Regions from separate parts of the Homo sapiens genome. Here region 2 is linked to region 1. The links are contacts of gene promoters, found by promoter capture Hi-C in blood cells and fetal thymus (Javierre and others, 2016). All regions are on one chromosome and are shown on one strand. Each heading gives the region's core, a stretch centred on a gene start or on the middle of the fragment in contact. The rest is flanking DNA. Distances are from core to core; before and after follow the strand shown. Region 1 holds the start of TNFSF8 (TNF superfamily member 8). Region 2 overlaps TEX48 (testis expressed 48).

The links. Contacts are between HindIII fragments. The CHiCAGO score rates a contact against its expected background, and 5 or more counts as called.
Region 2: a fragment that was not itself captured here is called in contact with the fragment with the promoter of TNFSF8 in region 1 in 8 of 17 cell types (M1 macrophages, M2 macrophages, M0 macrophages and 5 more); the score reaches 8.1 in M1 macrophages.

Annotation. Positions count from the first base shown.
Region 1 is chr9:114,928,615-114,933,173 of GRCh38, forward strand. TNFSF8 (TNF superfamily member 8) reads right to left here and starts at 1,977. Exons shown (of 4, transcript NM_001244.4): 1 at 1,495-1,977. The coding sequence starts at 1,689. RefSeq lists an enhancer at 1,071-1,630. The HindIII fragment of the contact is 2,687 bases long and covers 799-3,485 here.
Region 2 is chr9:114,663,534-114,668,170 of GRCh38, forward strand. TEX48 (testis expressed 48) reads right to left here. Exons shown (of 5, transcript NM_001199233.2): 5 at 2,901-3,213. The coding sequence ends at 3,110. Among named protein-coding and RNA genes, the nearest start is that of TEX53, 8.0 kb to the left of the region's middle. The HindIII fragment of the contact is 2,628 bases long and covers 191-2,818 here.

The DNA.
Region 1 (4,559 bases), core at 727-3,226:
TAAAATGACATACCCTTGGTTCACTCCAAATTAGAATTACAGAAATTGCAGAGCCCCTGCAGAAGAAAAGATGTCCTAAAGTGTTTTCAAGATTATTATACTTAATAGATGTAGATAAGCCATTAAATTATGAGTTTTAAGAATTCCACTATCTAAATCAAATATTTGCAACTCCTTCTTTTCACTTTTGTAGAGATATGAGCTTCAAAGCTTCCATTTAATTTCAAAGCTTGATGACACTTGAGAAATAGATATCAAAGCCTTTTAAAGCCTAGTTCTTTCCAGCAATTGATAAGCTATAGAGTACTTGGCCTAAGAAAACTGAAGAAAAACCAGAATAAATTCAGCAGGATTATAATACCACGAAAAGTAGGCACTATGAAGTAAGAAACAGAAATATTCTCACTTTGGCAGGTCATGTGGGTGGGTGCAGCTCTTAAATTACCCATTAACAACTTCATCAAAAAATTCATGAGCAATATATGCTATTACTACAGCATTTTCTATATAATATATACTGGTAGATTCTCTGTAAACACCAATTTTCTAAAATATGAAGAAGCTTCCTCTTTCTCCTCCTCTTCTGTTTTCAGAAACAAATCTTACCATTTACTTCAAAGTAAATCTCCGAAGACAGTCTGACCCTGTACAGTGTGTACCCAACGATTGCTTAGTATTGTGAGGAACATCAGAGAGAACAGGTGCTAAAAACCTTTCAACTTTCTGCTTCTATGTGCTGTTTCTTTTTTTTTTTTTTTTGTGACGCCCTAACTTCTTCAAAGTTGTGGCTTAAGAGGAAGCTTTCGATTTGTCTTGCTGGCTTTAACACCAAAATGTCCAAAGCTCTAAGAAGCCATGGTCTTCTCTTTCGCCTCCTTTCCTTCTAGACCTTGGCCTCTGAAACTTAGCTCCTTGTATAAAACAAAAGCAAAAACAAAACTCTTGGCAATGGGTGAGGCCTCAGAAACCTCCAGGACACTCAGACTTAGGATATAGAACCTCAGAATCCAGTCTGAAGTCCTTGAAGACATGATAACAACTTGTGCAAATGTGTTATCAGGTTTCTCTATTGCTTCCTTCCTTGATATGGGTCTCTGGCTCATTAAGATTTAAATCTTAACTTTAAAAGGCCAATAGCTCCCCTCCACTGTTTTGCTCAGACAGATCTGCAAAGTTTTAAGATGATGGTCTAACAATATTTTTCTCAACAAGCCAAATTATTTTAGAGAGTTAAGTTCCTCTTTCTTTTCTCCCTTTCTCATATATATATATATATATAATATATACTGTATAATATAATATATATTATGTAACATAAGTGTATTACGTTATACAGTATATACTATAGTATATATATATATATAGAGAGAGAGAGTTTATTTATTTAATTTTATTTTGTGCTCTTAACCAACAAACGAATATCATTTGTTCCCAGGGCTCTTTCTCTCGGGAAAACAACAAGAAAAGGAAAGGGAGGAAGAGGAGTCCACTTACCGTCCTCTGAACGACCAACACCATAATAGTGGCCACCGTGAAGACAAGGCACAGAGCCAGAGTGGCTGTGGTCAAATAGAAATAGCTGCGGCTCGTGGTCCCCAGGTGGCTGGCCACGGAGCCCGCCGGCACATGCATGGCTGTGTCTCCAGGAGGGGCCATTCCGTTGAGTGCTTGCTGCAGCCCTGGGTCCATTCTTTATATAGTCTTCCCCACATCACACCTTATCTCTCTTCATCTGATTCAGTTCTGGGCCCATCTCTGTTCCAAGAAGGATTCTCCCCCTGAATCCTGAATCATGTGACTTGGAAAAAAACCTTCACCTGCTGCCTGGTGGAGAAACTCTTCTCTGGGGGCGTGAGGCGAGAGGCGGCAGCAAGGGTGGGGGAGAGGTTCATTTTTCATTGCCAGGGATTAAGTTGTGTGCAGAGAAACTAGCTACAGAGAAGGTGGCTGATGTCAGAGGGCGCGTAGGAAAATGACGGTTCCCCGACTGTGTGTGTGTATGTGTGTGTGTGTGTGTGTGTGTGTGCATGCGTGCGCACACACAAAGCAACTTCTGTTTCGTTTAGACTCTGCCACAAAACGCCTTCCTGTTCAAGAAGCTGCACCTTCTTTCAGCGAGGCCTGTGGCTCAGAAGACCTCCCCAGATAATGAGTCCTTGCTGGGTCTCAGGGAGGCCGGATCCCTCGGACTGCAGTGTAATAACTCCAAAGGGTTCGGTTTGATAGGCTACTGCTGAAAAAGGGACATGCTGCAGGTTCCCTGGGGGAAAAAGGGCACACAAATGGAGATATTTCTCCAAAGGGGGACTGGCTCATGGCAGTATGAAATTTGGGGTTCAAAGATACTGTCAGAAAGCAGGAATCTGGAAATATCAATCTTTTGAACAAACACTCCTGCAGAAGTTTTGGGATCTGTTAAACTGGCAGATGAACCTGGACCTGCCGTAAAACTCATGAAGAGGGGAAGGAATTGGCAGTGAGATGGTGTGGTGTGGAATATGGGGGCTGTGTGTGTTCTGCGTGGTGTACTATGTAGTGTGTGTGTATTTGTGGTATGGGGGTATGTGTAGGTGTTGTGTGTTCTCTATGGTATATGTATGCAGTGTGTGTGTGGTGTGCATTTGTGATCTGCAATGCATGCCGAGTGTGGTGCGTATGTAAGTGTTGTGTGTGGTGTGTATGTATGTGTTGTGTGTGGTGTGTTGTGTCTTGTGTATGTATGTGTTGTGTGTGTATGTGACTACTATAATTGAACCTCTACTGTCTCAGGCACAGCGCTAGGAGTTACATGTGGCTTCATTCCACTTCCACCTCCACCCTCCGAGGCAGGCAATGTTTATTTTTTACAGATGGGAAAACTGAGGCTCAGGGAGGATGAAAACTATCTCAACCTAAGTCGCAAGTGTCGATCACTGAAAGAACTTGGGTGCACTTTGCAGCCTGCCTGGCTGAAAGCTCGTGCTAAGTCATTCAATCTTCACTGCACCTGAAAGCTAAAACCTGAAGTGTGGTCTCAGCCCTTTCCCTTCTTAGCCTTGGGCCATCATACAAGTCTTTATGGCTTTCTCTGTTCCCAATCTGCATTACAGTCATCAGGAAGACCAAGCGAGATGATGTCAGAGTACTCCATGAATAAAAATAGATTTGGGGATGGTGTTGGACAATTCCTGTTAAACATCCCAAGCTGTCTACTGGGCTAAGTCTGGAATTTAGATACAATAGACAGATTACCTGGGGGACAGAGTCAGATCACATCTGTGGTTACTAATGATCTCCATTTCAAAATACCGTTTAAAATGTTAATCACTGCATAGCTGCTGCCTCCAGATGTGGGCCTTTGAAAGCTCCATTTGGTATCACCGTGGAAGAAGCTCATTCTGCATAGCACCTCCTTTCCTTTCTGCTCACTTTTTGTCTGCAGCGCATCACTTTGAGCCAGCAGAGATCCCAGATGCCCCTAAGGAAACGTCCTGTGTCTAAAGCCAAGCTTGGATTATTACCACTGCTGTTCTTGCATAGAACCAAAACTTCTGAGCATCTCCCAAATTAGATCAGGCTTTAGGATTTGGTCTGGATATTTCCTCCCAGTGAGTCTGTAAAAGCATAGATCCTGGAGACGAAAGAGACATCAAGAGATAAATTGTTTTCTTGGGCTAAATAGAGTGGGGGGCGATATACCCATTTTACAATCAAGGAAACCGAGGCCCCCGTGATCCCAATTGAGTTTGGTTTTGAAAACAGTGTGTTCACGTTCGTTTGGTCCGGTAATTAAGGTGGGAACGAGGCAAGCCAGTGTTTTCTGGGGCATGTACCTGGCTGATTTGGGGAGAAGGCTGTGTCCTCTGGTGGGCACGGACAGTGAGTGGGTAGCAAGGGCTCTGTGGTCTGCCCAGAGTTGCTGAGAACCAGCTGCTCCCTTGGCCCTCTTGTTCAGCCTCTTTGATCAAAGTGGAAAACTTCTGATTGTTGAATGGAAGCTGTGGGTGTTGAAAAATAAAAAGGCTTTGCTTGAAGTTCGGGTCTTCCTGAAGGCCTGTGGGGCTGAGAAGGGCAGTGGAAAAAAATGTTTGTCTTACAGTTACCCGTTTTGCATACAATACAATGTCCTGGGAGGGAAGGCTGACAAGGGGGAAAAATCACCCTTTGTTTTTACTCAACTTTCTGAGCAGTTGAGATTTTCGGATCAGTTCCTAGTACAGTAGTTTGTGGGCTCAATTCATTCTTTTGCTGTGACACTCCTCTACTCACAAACCTTCAGTGGCTCCCTATTTCCCACCCCCATTGCTCTAAGCCCCTCTCTGCTTTCCAGCTGTTCTAGAATCTAGCCTGGCCAACATAGAAATCCATGACCTGTGCTAACTGGCTTCTTTCTGTCTTCTACTCAAGCTGTACGATGTGCAGATGGAAGGAGCCTTTATAGAATTTCTTGTTGAGTAAGTTTTAAATCCTTTCTGGAAGCAAAGCTGTATAAGGAATATAAAAACATAAGAAAACAGGGCTGCTTTGGCTGAAGCACAGGTGGGACAAAGAGAAGGGCTAAGCTTCACCTGCTCATTTGC
Region 2 (4,637 bases), core at 255-2,754, 270 kb before region 1:
GTCCATAATATACTTTTATGTAAAAAAGTTTGAAAAACTATGAAGTAGATAGTTTTCTGGGAAAATAGTTTATTAAATTGACTGCATTAAAGATAGAAACTATCAATTTCTGTAGAAGAAATTTATTAAGAAACTACCCTCCCCCAAACAGGCAACAGGTCCAGAAGGTTGCACAAGGAGAGTTTCACCAAGCTTTTAAAGACCAGTTACAGTACTACATAAATTGTTCTAGAGCATATAAAATAAAACTTCCAAATTCTTTTTGTGAAGCAAGTGTATATTGATAACCGCATGTGATAGGGATAATCAAAAAGAAAATTACAAGGCAACGTTACCTACCAATACTGATACAAAAATTCTTAATAAAATATTAGTGAACAGAATCCAACCTCACAGTATGAAGATAATAAATCATGATCAGGTGAAATTTATCTGTGGAATGGAAGTTTGATTCGATATGAGTAAAGAAATTGTGATTTTTTTTATAGATGCTGAAAAAAGAAAAAAGAGGGAATTGATGGATATTATATTAATATGATAAAATGGCACTCTCTCTCTCTCTCTTTATCTCTACCTCTATGCCTTTGTCCTAAACCCAACTTCTTCCTTAATTTGCAAATACTGGAGCTATTTAAAATCAGGAACGAAGCACAGATATCTACTGACTTTAACATTGTAGCGGTGGCATTAACCATTGCAATCAGAAAAGGTAAATTGGAGACATAAAAATTAGAAGAAGAAGAAGTTAAAGTATTTCTACTTGCAGATTACATAATAGTATTACTGGTAAACCATCGGAAAGCAAAAACAAAACTACTCAAACAATGAAAGAATTCAGAAGGGAAGCAAGGCATACAATTAGCATACTGAACTCAATAGTGTTATTATACGCAAGCAATAACTAACTACAACAATAGTGAGAGAGAAAACTTCATTTACAATAGCAACAAAAGATAAAATACCTAGGAGTAAAGTTAATAAGAAATTTGCAAAATTAATATAAAGAACTCTTGAAAATAGTCCTGAAAGCCAACAAAGTAGGTTTGAACAAATGAAAAGACATTGGTTGGTGGTTAGGAAGAATCAATGTTATAGATGTGTCAGTTCTTCCTGATTTATAATTTTCCCTAATTTGTAAATTTAGCACAATCATGATGAAAATAACATCAAGATTTTTTCTGAAGCTAGACAAATTGATCCTAACATTTACATGAAAAAACAAGCAAGAATAAAACAGGCATTGGGCGACAGTGAGACTCCGTCTCAAAAAACAAACAAACAAACAAACAAACAAACAAACAAACAAAAAAACAGGCAGACTCCCCAGTGGAGTAGAATAGAAAGTTCAGAAAGAGACACAAATATATATGAAAATTTAGTGTATGATAATAAAGGTGTCATCTCAGATGGATGATTGGACCAAAGATATTCTCCTTAATAAATATGCTGAAATGACTATATAATCATTTGGAGAAAGTGTAAAGTTAGATCCATACTTCCTAAATACATAATAATAAATGCCAAATGGAATAGGTTATATTTCTGATGTATAATGCTATACAAGCAAACGAAGAAGTGTGGGTGAATTCCTCTATAAACTGGATGTAGGGAAAGGCTAACGACAACCCAAAGTCCAGATTCAATGAAACATTAATAAACTTGACTTTGAGGAGCTAGTATTTCTAGTATATAAAGAGCACTCAAAAATTAACAGGAAACAGGAAAAAGAAAAAAGAGTGGAAGACATAAACAGATCATTAATAAAAACATATAAAAATGACCCTTAAACATATGAATAGATGTTAGTCTTCACTCATGGTAAGGGAAATGCAGGTTAAAACCAAAATGAGATACCGTTTCTCACCTGTAGGATTGGGAGAGCCTAAACAGTTGCTGAGGGCATGAGGAAACAGGTATCTCAGATATCATATACTCTTACAGAACAGAACTTGGCAGCATCTAACAAAACTGTATATATCTTTTCCATTTGGCTCAAAAGTCCATGCTGAAAAATTAACCCTAAAGATACACCGTATTAATCCGTTCTCATGCTGTTAATAAAGATATACCTTGGCCTGGCACAGTGGCTCACGCCTGTAATCCCGCACTTTGGGAGGTTGAGGAGGGCGGATCACCTGAGGTCAGGAGTTCGAGACCAGCCTGGCCAACATGGTGAAACCCCATCTCTACTAAAAATACAAAAATTAGCCAGGCCTGGTGGCAGGCACTTGTAATCCCAGCTACTCGGGAGGCTGAGGCAGGATTGAACTGAGTTCAATCACTTGAACTCAGGAGGCGGAGGTTGCAGTGAGCTGAAATGGTGCAAATGGGGAAAATGTAGATTAAACAATTGGTGACTCTGGGTAAAAGGTAAATGGGAGTTCTCTGTATTATTCTTGTGACATTTCTGTAAATTTGGAATTATTTCAGAAGGTATCCAAAAAGCTGTTTTCTCCTTCCTCTCTCTCTCTTTTTTCTTTCTTCCCTTCCCCCTTCCCCCTTCCCTTCCTTTCTTTCTTTCACGGAGTCTCACTCTGTTACCCAGGCTGGAGTGCAGCGGCGAGATCTCAGCTCATTGCAACCTCTGCCTCCTGGGTTCAAGTGATTCTCCTGCCTCAGCCTCCCTAGTAGCTGAGATTACAGGAGCACGCCACCACACCTGGCAGATTTTTTTATTTTTAGCACAGATGGGGTTTCACCGCATTGGCCAGGCTGGTCTTGAACTTATGACCTCATGTGATCCACCTGCCTCGGTCTCCCAAAGTGTTGGGATTACAGGCGTGAGCCACTGCGCCCAGCCAATAGGCTAAATTTTTTAAGCTTAGTTAGATGTGACAATATATTTAAAAATAATAAGACATTAGTTGGTAAGGGGGAAAGGAAAAGAGAAGGACACATCCTCTGGTGCAATCAAGAACTTTAATTGGAGGCAGCTCTTCCCATGGTGGCTTTTTAGGAGCTGGAGTGACTCTTGCTTGGTGGCACAAGGATGGCTCAGATGTCTTCTCCTCCTTCAGGGGAGTTTCCGAATTAGTCTTCATGACTCCTGTCCACCGCCCTCTTCCTCATGGAGATGCCCCAGCAGCTGTGCAGCCGCCGGCTAGAATGCTCAGGGCCTCCCAGTGAGGCATGGCTGGAATGGCCAGTGCTCCTGGCAGTAGCGGTTTAAGTTTCTCTTGTAAAAATTTCTTTGGGAAGCATATGCATTCAGATCTGAAAGAAGAAAGGAAAAAATTATGCTGGGTGAAGGCCTTTGAATTGGGCTTTGATGAACTGTTTTGGTTGTTTGTATCCATTGCTGATCATTCCTCAGCTTCTTGAATCTCAAGGGACCCAAGGCAGACCCTAGTCTAGGACTTGGAAGTCTTTTGTGATAGGAGGAGTTTCTTGCAGTGTATTTTGCATTGTGTTACGTTGGTGGCTTCAGTGACAGTAGGCTGTCTTGCAAAGCACAGTGATATGGAAGGTAGGAGACTTGGGCCCATCCTGGCTCTGACACTTACGTCATTCCCTAGTGCACTCGTGGGAAGTCCCTTTCCCTCTGTGAGCCTCACCCCTATGGGGGGGTGGGAAGGGCAGAAGGAAGGAGTGGGCGAGCTAGTGGGGTTCCTACCTTCTCAAGCTTGATTCAAGCAGAGCTGTTCCTCTTTGATCTTTTATAGAAAATGGACTCTGTGAAATGCTGTTTTCAAGGGGGTTTAGTTGTTAGGGGAATTCAAAATGACTGGGTTGGATAATCCTTAGTTCTCAACAGGACTCCTGGGGTGGTTGTGAGTTATGTGAGACCACCTGGGGATAGAACTGGCGCCCAGCAATGTGGCTGCATTTCTTCTTCCTGGGCTGTGCCACTGTCCTGGGATTGGGCATCTGTTCTTCTGTGACCCAGAGGCATTTCACCCCCAGTTGAACTACACTCAATCCACAAGTGTTTTCTGGCATTGTTTACTTGCCATGCACCTGGCTGGATCTGGGGGCATAACAGGGAATAAAACTGATGTGGGCCCCTGCCCTCCTGGCACTTACTGTCTAGTGGCCAAAGTAGACATCAAGTAAGCATATGAAAAATACACGTGTAAGATGATGCCGCCAGGTGCGGTGGTTACACCTGTAATCCCAGCACTTTGGGAGGCCAAGGTAGGTGGATCACTTGAGGTCAGGAGTTCGTGACCAGCCTGGCCAACATGGTGAAACCCTTTTTCTACTAAGAATACAAAAATTAACCAGGCATGTTGGTGGGCGCCTGTAATCTCAGCTACTCAGGAAGCTGAGACAGGAGAATCACTTGAACCTGGGAGGTGGAAGTTGCAGTGAGCTGAGATTGGAGACTGCACCACTGCACTCAAGCCTAGACAACAGAGGGAGACTCCATCTCAAAAAAAAAAAAAAAAAAAAAAGATGATGCCACAAAGCTTTGAAAGGAAAGCATGGATGTTTGCCCTTCCCCCCAGACCTGCTCCTTCTCATGCACTTCCTAGCTTGGAAGATAGTGGAGTCAGGTCTTAGCCTCTAGGGTCTCCCCAGTGTGCTCTGGAATATGACTGGGGCTGCTTGATGGGAGCAATTCCATCTCCCCATCTCGCTTAGCTGAAGTATCAATGGGGTCTGGTTATTAGGACCAGGCTCCCTGTCTGGGAGTT